2 separate regions of the Homo sapiens genome follow, and region 1 is linked to region 2. Evidence: promoter capture Hi-C in 16 types of primary human blood cells and fetal thymus (Javierre and others, 2016). All regions are on one chromosome and are shown on one strand. The core of a region is centred on a gene start or on the middle of the fragment in contact, and the rest is flanking DNA. Distances in the headings are between cores, read along the strand shown.

Region 1 (5,267 bases), core at 2,747-5,246, 310 kb after region 2:
TCAGGAGACCCTGTCTCTAGAAAAAATTTAAAAATTAGGCTGCGCACAGTGGCTGACGTCTAAGTGACGCTGGTAATCCCAGCACTTTGGGAGGCTGAGGCGGGTGGATCACCTGAGGTCAGGAGTTTGAGACAAGCCTGGCCAACATGGTGAAACCCTGTCTCTACTAAAAATACAAAAATTAGCCACACGCGGTGGCATACGCCTGTGATTCCAGCTACTCAGGAGGCTGAGGCAGGAGAATCACTTGAACCTGGGAGGCAAAGGTTGCAGTGAGCCGAGATCGCACCATTGCACTCCAGCCTGTGCGACAGGGTGAGACTCCATCTCAAAAAAAAAAAAAAAAAAAAAAAAAAAAAATAGCAGGGTGTGGTGGTGTACACCTGTAGTCCCAGCTACTTGGGAGGCTGAAGTGGGAGGATCACTGGAGTCCCAGAGGTCGAGATTGCAGTGAACTGTGATGGGGTCACTGCACTCCAGCCTGGGTGACAGAGCAAGTCCCTGTCTCAGAAAAACAAACAAAAAAACCAAGAAGGTAAGGAGGATAGTCCATGCTTCCAAAAAAATACAGAGAACAGTATACTGTCAAAAGGCTGTAAGAGTCAGAACAGCTTTTCCCCTGGAATTATCTCAGAGATTGAATGGAATGCTGATTTTCTCTCCAGTAAAGAATCATAAAACACTAGGATTCAGCTATCTCTTAAATCTATAAAAATTATTTCCTGGGATGGGTGCGTGGCTCATGCCTGTAATCCCAACACTTTGGGAGGCCGAGGCAGGCGGATCATGAGGTCAGGAGTTTGAGACCAGCCTGGCCAACATGGTGAAGCTCCGTCTCTACTAAAAATACAAAAATAAGCTAGGTATGGTGGTGCATGCCTGTAATCCCAGCTACTGGGGAGACTGAGGCAGAAGAATCGCATGAAACTGGAAGGCAGAGGTTGCAATGAGCCAAGATTGTGCCACTGCACTCCAACCTGGGCCAAAGAACGAAACTCTGTCTCAAAAAAAAAAAAAAATTGTTTTCTTAAAAACTCATTAGCTTACCAATATAGCATAACTATGTCTAAACAATAAAAAAAGTTTGTATTCCTACTGTCATTTGAATAATTTATATACATATGTTTATAAGAAATATTTAATTCTACCTTTCAGCTTCATCTCTTGGCTTTGAAAAGCCCTGGTTTTTTTTTTGGCCAGGTACCATGGCTCACGCCTGTAATCCCCACACTTTAGGAGGCCGGGCCGGGTGGATCACGAGGTCAAGAGATCAAGACCATCTTGGCCAACATGGTAAAACCCCATTTCTACTAAAAATACAAAAATTAGCTGGGCATGGTGGCATGCGCCTGTAGTCTTAGCTACTCGGAGGCTGAGGCAGGAGGACTGCTTGAACCCGAGAGGGGAAGGTTTCAGTGAGCCAAGTCATGCCACTGCACTACAGCCTGGCGACAAAGCAAGACTCCATCTAAAAAAAAAAGAAAAAAGAAAAGTCCTATTTTTAAAGACAGCATGTGTTATGAAAGAAAGAAAAGGGCTTTGGTGTCAAACAGACCTGGGTTTGAATTCTACCTCTACCACCTGCTTTTGAGTTTTTCTTTTGTAAAATGGGATAATATTACCACCCTGCAGGAATTTAGAGGATTAAAAATAATGTATGCTAAGAGCCTGTTTGTACATAGTAGCCATTTATATTATTTTTCTAGTTTCCCATCTCTATACCAGACTACATTTCCTAGAAAATCCTGGACCTCTTTACCACTCAGCAATGATTCTCCAAACATCGTATATAATATAGGACACAGTCCCAAGTCTATGAAATCTGCTTACCCTTTCTGGCGTTTTAAAGAATTCAGAGAGCTCCGTTAATATCTTCTTTCAAGTATTCATGTTCTACGAACTGCAGTAAGACAATCTACCCAGGAACCCACAATATAAGCCTCCCTAAGTTTTTCTCCCTCTTTTAATTTTTAAAATAGATTTTTTTACTATTATTATCGTAGAGACGGAGTCTCACTATCTTGCCGCGTGGTCTCAAACTCCTGAGCTCAAGTAATCCTCCTACCTTGGCCTCCCAAAGTGCTGGGATTATAGGTATGTACCACCACACCTGGCCTCTTCTCCCTCTTGAAGGTTCTGAGGATACCCAAGATGGAAGACTGCAAAGCAATCACCATGGATAATGATGAGGATTCAAACTATGAATAAGGAACTTTGTTCCTTCTTTGAATTAATGCCTTCTCTCCCTATTGGTAACATAAAATGCCCAGTGTTTATAGTTTACTGGCTTTAATTATTGTTTTTTTATTTTTATTTTTTTGAGACAGGGTCTCACTCTGTCACCCAGGCTGGAGTACACTGGTGTGATATTGGGTCACTGCAACCTCTGCCTTCTGGGTTCAAGCAATTCTCCCGCCTCAGCCTCCCAAGTAGCTGGGACTACAGGTGCATGCCACTGCAGCTGGCTAATTTTTATATTTTTAGTAGACACAGGGTTTTGCTATGTTGGCTAGGCTGGTCTCAAACTCCTGACCTCAGGTGATCCGCCCGTCTCAGCCTCCCAAAATGCTGGGATTACAGATGTAAGCCACCGTGCATGGCCTCTGGCTTTAATTCTAATAACAGTATTTCAGACTATGTCAGGAATGCACTCTAACCCTTAAGTGTTAATTTCCAGCAGCAGAACTAAGCAAACTTTTTTTTTTTTTTTTTTTTTTTTTTTTAAGAGACAAGGTCTTGCTATGTTGCCAGCCTGAAACTCCTGGGCTCAAGCAGTCCTCCCAACTCAGCCCCCCGAGTAGTTGGGATTACAGGTACATGCCACTGCACCTGGCTAAGAGAACTTTCTATAAAAACATCCAGGACCATTTATCTCAGTTTAACTAATTCCTAGGGAAATCTACTTTTCATTTTGTTTCCATCTCAATTTACATTTACATCAGAAGTCTGTTGCCATTAACAGTTTTTGCCATTTATATTTCAAATTTTTCTTAAACTGGAGAGGATTTAAGATGAAAAAATGATGCTCCCAAGGTACAACTTACAATAAAACATTAAAGAGAGGCTTAAAACCTCAAGAAGTGCCTTCCTACAGGTTAGGTTAGAAGAAAGGGTCTAATGTTGGATTCTAAGTAAGGTTAACAAAACATACCTGGTAATGTGGCAATCATTAAAGTACACCAGAGGAATACAGTAACTTGACTACCATTAGAGGTAAACCCTATAGTAGCTTTCCAGATGGCTAAGAAAAAGCCAGGAAGAAAAAAAAAAATGGCACGTGAGGCAAATATGTATGCTTCACTTTAGAACTTGGCCAGACTTCCTTAAACAGTAACTTCAGAGGATAAACAGCAAATATCTAATCTAAAATGTTTGCATTGACCCAATCCACTAGACATACTATTAATACATTTCATTAATAAGATGACATCTTTGTCATATTAATTACTCCCCAATGCCCTATTGGCAACCTCAAGGCAGCCTCCGTTCATTAATTTATCTGTATCATAACACATTCCTGGGGTTAGATGGTACTTGAGAAATCTGGCTTCTGGCCCAGGAACTATGTCCTACAGAGGTAGAGATAAAAAAAAACTGCTGCAAAGAAGTGACTAATTCATAAAATTCATCACTCGCTAATTTTTGAAAAGCTTTCAAAGACTTTCTACTCACTCCAAGAGCAGAATGACTAAATCAATAAAGAGCAAGTAGCCTCCTTTTCTGACTGATTTTAACAGCAATGATGTTTCTTGGCTACATTTGTAAAAATAAAAGATGAAGTTTTTAATATTACTATAAAGCTAATCTAAAACTCACTGGCTTTTGGCTCTAAAATGAAAATATACAAAGTCACTACCCCATGCCTATTGCTGATTCAATTAATTCAGTTGCCTGTGTTCCAAATAGGTGAGGGTAAACAGCAGATTATCTTAGCTCACTGATAATCTGCTTTAAAAAAAAAAAAAGCTAATTCAATCTCAGAGACTTAAAAACTAACTCTAACACCAATGTTATGCAATAAAAAGTCTGGTTTGGATACCGTTATTTCTCTTTTATAATCTGGATATTTCCTAGACATGTTTAGAATAAACTTTTATACAGTAGAAATAATGGAGTAATGAATCTATCTACTGAAAGCATTTTAATAGTCACTTTATGATTTTAAAAGCCTATTACTCCCCTGATAGAATACAAGACTTAGAGCACGAAACTCAAGATCCCAGTCTTTCACAACAGGGTGCGCTTCTATACAATGTCTCCTACTAGAATCTGTTTGCTTTTAAAATGCCAGTATTGTTTTAAACTGGCAACAAAGAGGCTGCTTTCTTTCAGCTCTCTGTAGACAAGCTTCTGTCTTAGGTTGGTCCTACTCCACACTAAGGACCATGGCACTGGAACTGATTCTTTTTTTTGAGACTAGGTCTCGCTCTGTTGCCCATACTAAACTGCAGAGGCGCAATCTCAGCGCACTGCAGTGATCACTGCGCAATCTCAGCTCTACCTCCTGGACTCAAACAATCCTCCCACCTCAGCCTCCCAAGGAGATGGGACTGCAAGTACTTGCCCCATGCTTGGCTTTTTTTTTAAACTTTTTGTAGAGACAAGGTCTCAATATTGCCTAGGCTGGACTTGAACAACTAGGATCAAGTGATCCTCCCACCTTGGCCTCCCAAAAGTGCTGGGATTACAGCCATGAGCCAGCCGCACTCAGCCTGGCAGATTCTTATACATTTAATTGACTGCATTTAGCAGGGTGCAGTGGCTCACGCCTGTAATCCCAGCACTCTGGGAGGCTGAGGCAGGAGGATTGCTTGAGCCCAGGGGTTTGAAACCAGCCTGGGCAATATGGTGAAACCTCATCTTTACAAAAAATACAAAAATTAGCCAGGTACGGTGGCGTGCACCTGTAGTCCCAGCTACTCGAGAGGCTGAGATGGGAGAATCACCTAAGCCCAAGAGGTCGAGGTTGCAGTGAGCCATGATAGTGCCACTGCACTCTAGGTGACAGAGTGAGATCCTATTTCAAAAATAAATAAATAGACTGCACTTTAAGAGGTTGGTGGTGGGAACTAAAAGGTCACAAGCATTCTTAGCCTCCCACTCTAATCATCCTAGGAAATACTACCTAATAAGATGTCACAATTCTTAAGTAAACACCTAAAACCCTGGAAATATAAAAATATCTTCAAGCTGGGTGCTGCGGCTATGCCTGTAATCCCAGCACTTTGGGAGGCCAAGATGGGAGCATCACTTGAGCCGGGCAAGTA
Region 2 (6,081 bases), core at 89-2,588:
TCTCCATTCAGTCTCCCTACACTGCTTTGGCAGTGAGTGAGTCAGGCACTTGGGAGAGGAGGAGCTGCCTCCCCCACCTGCCAGTATGGGGGATCCAGGCAGCATCCTCCAGGTCTGGACAGGTCCCGGGGCTGGCAGCTGGCGCCACTTCCTCACGATACTGCCAAGCAGCCCTCCCCCTGCCAGGCACCACCACCCAAGGACCTCACCCAAATCCCTCCCACTCACTCCCCTCCAATATCTTCGGGGTGCCAGGGTTTGTCAAGCTCTTTCTTCCCCAACCCCAGAGGCATGGTCCAAAAAAAAGCCTGTGAGTCCCTGAAGTGTACAAAATTAACCCTGGGGCATGGAGGGTAGGAGCTTCTGACAGCCCCACAGATCCTAGGGCAGTCTCAGAGAGCCAGAGGGTCCATGCCAGGGCCTGGCACTGCCAAGTGGACTCTGCTCTGAGTCCTCCAACCCACTCTTGGCCGCAAAGTTCAGGACAGACTATAAAACATCCTCCACAGAGTCTGATCCTTGCCTCTACTTAATGATCCTGTATGTCTAACTTCTGGCAATTCACTAGCAACCAAGCCCCCTGTTTCCCACTGCCTCCAGGCAGCTCTCCCACACTTCCCTGAAAAACCTTTTTCCAAGTATATAGGAACCCCCTAGTTCTCTCCTGGTTGTTTTCCGAGACTCTGAGTAACTAGGCATCCCTAGAATTCCTCCCAGTCTCTTAATATCTTTCCAACTCCCCCGGCCTCCACTATTTCCTCACCCTTCTAGTCTCCCCACACACCACTCCCTCGTCCTCCCATTACTCCCTTCCCAGTTATCGCTACTACGCACAATCCCCCCACAATTCCAGCTTCTCGCACCTGATCTCCAATTGCAGCAGGTCTCCTGCACTATAAAGAACTCCCTTCTGGTCTCCCCACCCCCCAGCCACTTCTCCCCATCCTCTCCTCCCGATAATTCCCCTCCCTGGGATTCTCCTGCATCAGCCCACAATACAATTCTGATACCCCACCCCCAACAATTCCTTTCTCCCTCGCATTCTCTGGTCCCCTGGAACTCCTCCTTTCTCTTAGAACCCACCAAGAACTCCCCCACATTGCCTCCAGAACTCCTGCAGTTCTCCGGGAACTCCCACCCACCCGCCAAGAATTCCACTTCACTCCCCAGAACTCCCCTAGTTCTACTCCTGCAACGAATTCCACTTCTCTCTAGAACTCCCCGCTTTCTCCTGTCCCCCATAACTCCGCACTACCAGCACCACCACTTCTATACCTCCAGTACGCCCCCTCCCTCACCTGCTCCGCACCGCTCGGCTCCACTCTCGCCGCTACACAATAGGGGGCGGACCCGCCTCCCCGCCTCGGATGCCCCGAGCGCCTCCCGTCGCCCTGGAGACCGCCAATCCCCCTCCCGCGGCGGCCAATTGGAGCCGCCAGAGGCACGGCGAGGCGGGCGGGACCCCTGAGCGGCCTGGGAGTTGTAGTTTCAGGAGGGAAGAGCTCGGCTGCACGTGGGCTCAGGTCGCCCCCTCGTGGACCTCTGCACAGCCAAGCGTGGAAAGGCCGGTGGGCCGCTTCCCGCCGCCAGCAAGAGGGGCAGCAGGGTCCGGCTCGCGCTCCAGGGCTGCGGGAGCTGGCCCCTTGCCAGGCTACTGGTACGCCGTCCTTCTTTCGGAACCTACGGGCGACCCTCTCCGCTCCCCGAACGGGCGCGCCACAGAGGCGGCAGCGAGGGTTGAAATCTGAGCCTGGGGGTAGGAGAACCAGGCGGGGAGCATGACTCCCCGCCCTCCTCCCAGGGGATCCACCCAGGTCCCGGGCTCATCCGATCTCCTCCCCCATCCCCATTTCTACCTCCACCCATTGCTTCTCTAGCAGGACTGGAAATACCTGTCTGCATTGGCGAGCTCCCAAATCTTGCCCAGGCGCCTCCCACCGTGTGCAGCTGAGGAAGGCTGTGCTCTGAGCGTGGGGTTGCCAAGTCAGCTCCCAAGGCAGCTCTGGCACCAACGACCCAGAGAAACAGGCCCAGAGGGGAGAAACGACAGATATCCTGACACGGGAGATTGAAAGGGAGGAATGAAATACAAGATCACTTACTGGACCCATGCAGGGTGCCAGACCCTGGACTAGATGCTTTATAACTCTTGTGTAACCTTCACAGAAACCCTGCGAAGTAAGTAGAGCTCCCTTTGACTAATGAGAAAACTGAGGCTCAGGGAGATGAAGTAACTTGGCCCAAGCTTTCCCAACTAGGTTATGGCAGAGCTGGATTGAGACCCAACCCAAACTTCATCAAACCTACTCCCTTGGAGGCTTCGCCCTCAGACACAAAGATATCTTGCATATCTTGCCCCTCAGAGATTCCACCTCCTCAGCCTGGTGATGCTGTAGGGATGCTGGGTCGGCTTAAGCAACATTGCCTGTCCAGGTCCTTCCCATTCAGTTGGCTCCCTTGGAAGCCTTCCATGAAAGCAACGTGCTGATCTCATCCCAATCCGAAGTACTAAGACTCAAACTGAGTGCACCAGGCATCAGACTCACAGAATCACTGCTGCAGCATCATGAGAGAACCTCCAGGATGGGCCTAAGCACTACTTGGCCCCAGAATCCCTGGCACATCATTTCTCCATGTAGTCATCCAAGCCCCTATCTCATTACATCCTGGGCCAGGAAGCTCAGCACTACTGTTGTACCCATTCCATCCTTAGTAAGCTCTGCCTGCTGGACAGTTCTTCCAGGTGTAAAGGTTTTAGTGCTTTTGGGTGACTGAGATGGAAGGGAAGAGGCAGGAGCAGTGGGCCAGTCTCTCCCACCATCCCTCCTGCAAATAGTCCCAAAGTAGCAGCTTTTCAACAATGCATTTCAACATAATACCCTGATCTATTGATAAGACTATAATGGAAACATGTTAATGAATGCAGCATGGAAGCAAGGCTAGAAGAAATGGTAAAAGAGTGAAGCGGGTTTTTTGTTTGTTTGTTTTTTTGTTTTGACAGAGTCTCACTCTATCGCCCAGGCTGGAGTGCAGTGGTGCAATCTCGGCTCACTGCAACCTCCACCTCCCGGGTTCAAGCGATTCTCCTGCTTCAGCCTCCCAAGCAGCTGTGATTACAGGCGGCCACCACCATGCCTGGCTAATTTTTGTATTTTTAGTAGAGATGGGGTTTCACCATCTTGACCAGGCTGGTCTTGAACTCCTGACCTCATGATCCACCCACCTCGGCCTCCCAAAATGCTGGGATTACAGGTGTGAGCCACTGCCCCCGGCCGAGCCAAGTGTTTTTTAGTCTTTGGATCTTTACCAATCATTGGGAAGGATCTCCCTCCCCGCTGTTAGAATTGGCCACACCTTTGATCTAAACTGCTGTCTCCAGTGGTTTCTTGAGGATAAACTAATCTCATTTAGACATTAAAATAACTTTCTGTTAAATGACATTTAAAATGGTTTTCAATTTTTAAAAGTTTATGATATGGCCTTTTTTTTCTGGAAACTTATTTTGTGACTTTTATTGTTATTGCCATTTTTTGTCTGATTTATATGTATATTGGAGATTTTTTGTTAAGAAAAGGAACCTAGCCCTATAACTTGTTCCCTCACTGTGCCAGGAGTGAAAGCTGATTTAAAAAATAGTCCCTGAGGTTCAAAACAAAAGACTTTCCTCTAGGTTGTCCTTGATTCATAGTCATTACTCTCTGGGAAAGCTTATTCAACCAACGAGGATTCCACCTAACCTAAGTATCAGGCAGCCCCCATATTTTCAAATTGCTGACAAGGATATCAGAAAATATTCTCTCTCTCCCCCTCCTCCTCCTCCTCCTCTTCTTCCTCCTTCTTCTCCTTCTCCTGCTTTCTTCTTTCCTCTTTCCTCCTCCTCCTCCTTCTCCTCCTCCTCCTCTGCTGCTGCTTTTCCTCCTCCTCCTCCTCCTCCTCCTCCTCCTTCTCCTTCTTCTTCTTTTCTCTCTCTGTCTCTCTCTCTGTCTCTCAGAGCTGGGGTATTCTCCTCCTCTTGCCTTTGAACATCAAAACTCCAGGCTCTCCAGACTTGGGACTGTGAGTTATACCATTGGCCTCCCTGGTTGTGAGGCTTTTGGAGTTGGACTGAGCCACACTTTTGCCATCCCAGGGCCTTCTTTGTGCATGTTGTAGGACTTGGCCTCCACCATCATGTAAGCCAATTCCCCTAATAAATCCCATCTCATATTTCTATATCTGTATCTATCTATCTTATTGGTTCTGTCTTCCTGGTGTATACCTAATATTTCAGCAGGCCTTGGGAAGAAAGGACCTGAGCTGCTCCATAGCCCTGCACAAAGAAGATGGTGTGACCTCAGAGATGTCTGCTTGGCATCGTTAAGCACAGGTGTTCCTAATCAGCAAAGTTTCTCATTGTCTATAGATAAGCAGAGAATTACTTGATATCAAATGAACCCTGAAAGGTGGAACACATGGGCTTTTAGTAGTGACCACATTTGATGTGTTAACATTGCTTGTACCAATTAAGCACCACATAACTATCCCATATTCTAGAATAGAAAGGGTGGCTTTAATAATCGATAATAGGGATGTTGTTAATCAGGCATATATTAAGTTATATCTGAGTTAAAAAAGAAAAGAAAAGATTGTCATCCAGGGACTCTGTTGACCACATGCCTGTAAGCAGCAGTCTTATTACCAGATCCGTAAAGAAGTGCGGTTTCTCATATATTGTCATTTAACTTTTTGTGTGCCTATCTTCTATCCCAATGAAACACTTAGCCCCACAAGGGTGTGGATATTGTCCTGTTTGTCTTTGAATTCCTGCTTCAGAAAGGCCCTGCTTACTTTTCCAGCCTGGTTTCTCACTTATCCCTTTATCGCAGTGTGCATGACTTTGCAGGCCTTAGAACTACTGTGCTCTTTCACATACCAGTGTCTTAGCACTTAGCTTCTGTCTCGATAGAATGCCCTTTTCTCCTTTCCAGACTCACTGCTGGCCACAGGTCAAATTTCTGTTGATCTGTTCCCTTCAGGACACATTCCGTGACTTTTCCCACCACGCCCTCACCTTCACCCCAGCCCTTTTCCTACCTTGTTATTGTATCTTTACACACTCCACAAAACATTCCTTGAAGGCAGAGGTGTCTCTTCTGCCTCCCCAGTGCTTGCCAAGTTCCTGGCATATTGCAGAGGTAGCGGCTTGTGCCTCTCTGAGTTTATATTCAACTTTCTTTAAGATCTCATCCTTCCTCTTCCAGAAGCTCGGCCTCTTTTGAGGCCTCAACCCTTCTCTGCTCAGAGATCGGCTGTAAGAAGAAGGAACTTTGCCAACTTCCAGGGAAATCCCTGGGCCTATCATACATTCATTCCTTTATTTATTCATCCTTTTGTTTACTTTCTATGAATTCAATCCTGCAATAACATGAGAAATGAGCTGCCTCTTTATGTGCAAGATGGACTCAAGGTGGCCTTTCCAGTCAGTCCCCATCCCTGCAGTGGTGCCTCCTAGGAAAGATATAAAAGGAATCAAAGGGATTGGGGGCTGCTGGCCTTTTTTGGAAGCAAGACTGCTCAGGGCCTAAGGGAAGCCCAGAGAACCAGCCTCAAGAAGGGACTGCCTTCCAGAGGGACAAGGGTTCAGGCCCTCAGAAAGTAGAGGGGACCAGTTTACCAGCACTAGGAGCTCTTGGGGCTGGTTTCCCAACCTTACTACCTCCTTCCCAAGCCCCAAGGGGCTCCATCTCCTGCACAAATACCTAGGGAGACCCCTACTCTTGGCTTCCAGCCCTGCCCCACGCCGCTCTCAAGACTCTCCTCCTGGGTGGTCCTGTGCCAGCCCATGTGTTCTACTTTCCTAAAAGGAAGGTATCCTTGGTCTCATTGGTTGCCCAGTTGAATGCATTCCACTGACCCCTGCACATACTTCTTGTTCCTTTTTTAGAAGATACTTTGGAGATCAGCATCCTCCCCCTCAAAAACAAAGAGGAAGAAGAGACCCACAGCAATGTTAGGCATGCCTCCTGCCATGCGGCCCTCTCCCCACCCTTCAGACACCTCTTCTGAAACTCCCCAGGGCCCCCAACCCACCCTGTCTCTGTG

The links. The method cuts DNA at HindIII sites, captures the fragments that hold promoters and counts their contacts. A CHiCAGO score of 5 or more calls a contact.
Region 1: a contact is called between a fragment that was not itself captured here and the fragment with the promoter of IGSF9 in region 2, in 1 of 17 cell types (naive CD4 T cells). The highest score is 5.8, in naive CD4 T cells.

Annotation. Positions count from the first base shown.
Region 1 is chr1:160,253,318-160,258,584 of GRCh38, forward strand. The region is part of intron 2 of DCAF8 (DDB1 and CUL4 associated factor 8); the gene reads right to left. Among named protein-coding and RNA genes, the nearest start is that of DCAF8-DT, 5.8 kb to the right of the region's middle. The HindIII fragment of the contact is 697 bases long and covers 3,649-4,345 here.
Region 2 is chr1:159,944,275-159,950,355 of GRCh38, forward strand. IGSF9 (immunoglobulin superfamily member 9) reads right to left here and starts at 1,339. Exons shown (of 21, transcript NM_001135050.2): 1 at 1,299-1,339. LOC124904438 (a long non-coding RNA gene) reads left to right here. Exons shown (of 3, transcript XR_007066684.1): 2 at 1,878-2,178. RefSeq lists a silencer at 1,325-1,619 and an enhancer at 1,462-1,962. The HindIII fragment of the contact is 10,806 bases long and covers 1-2,243 here.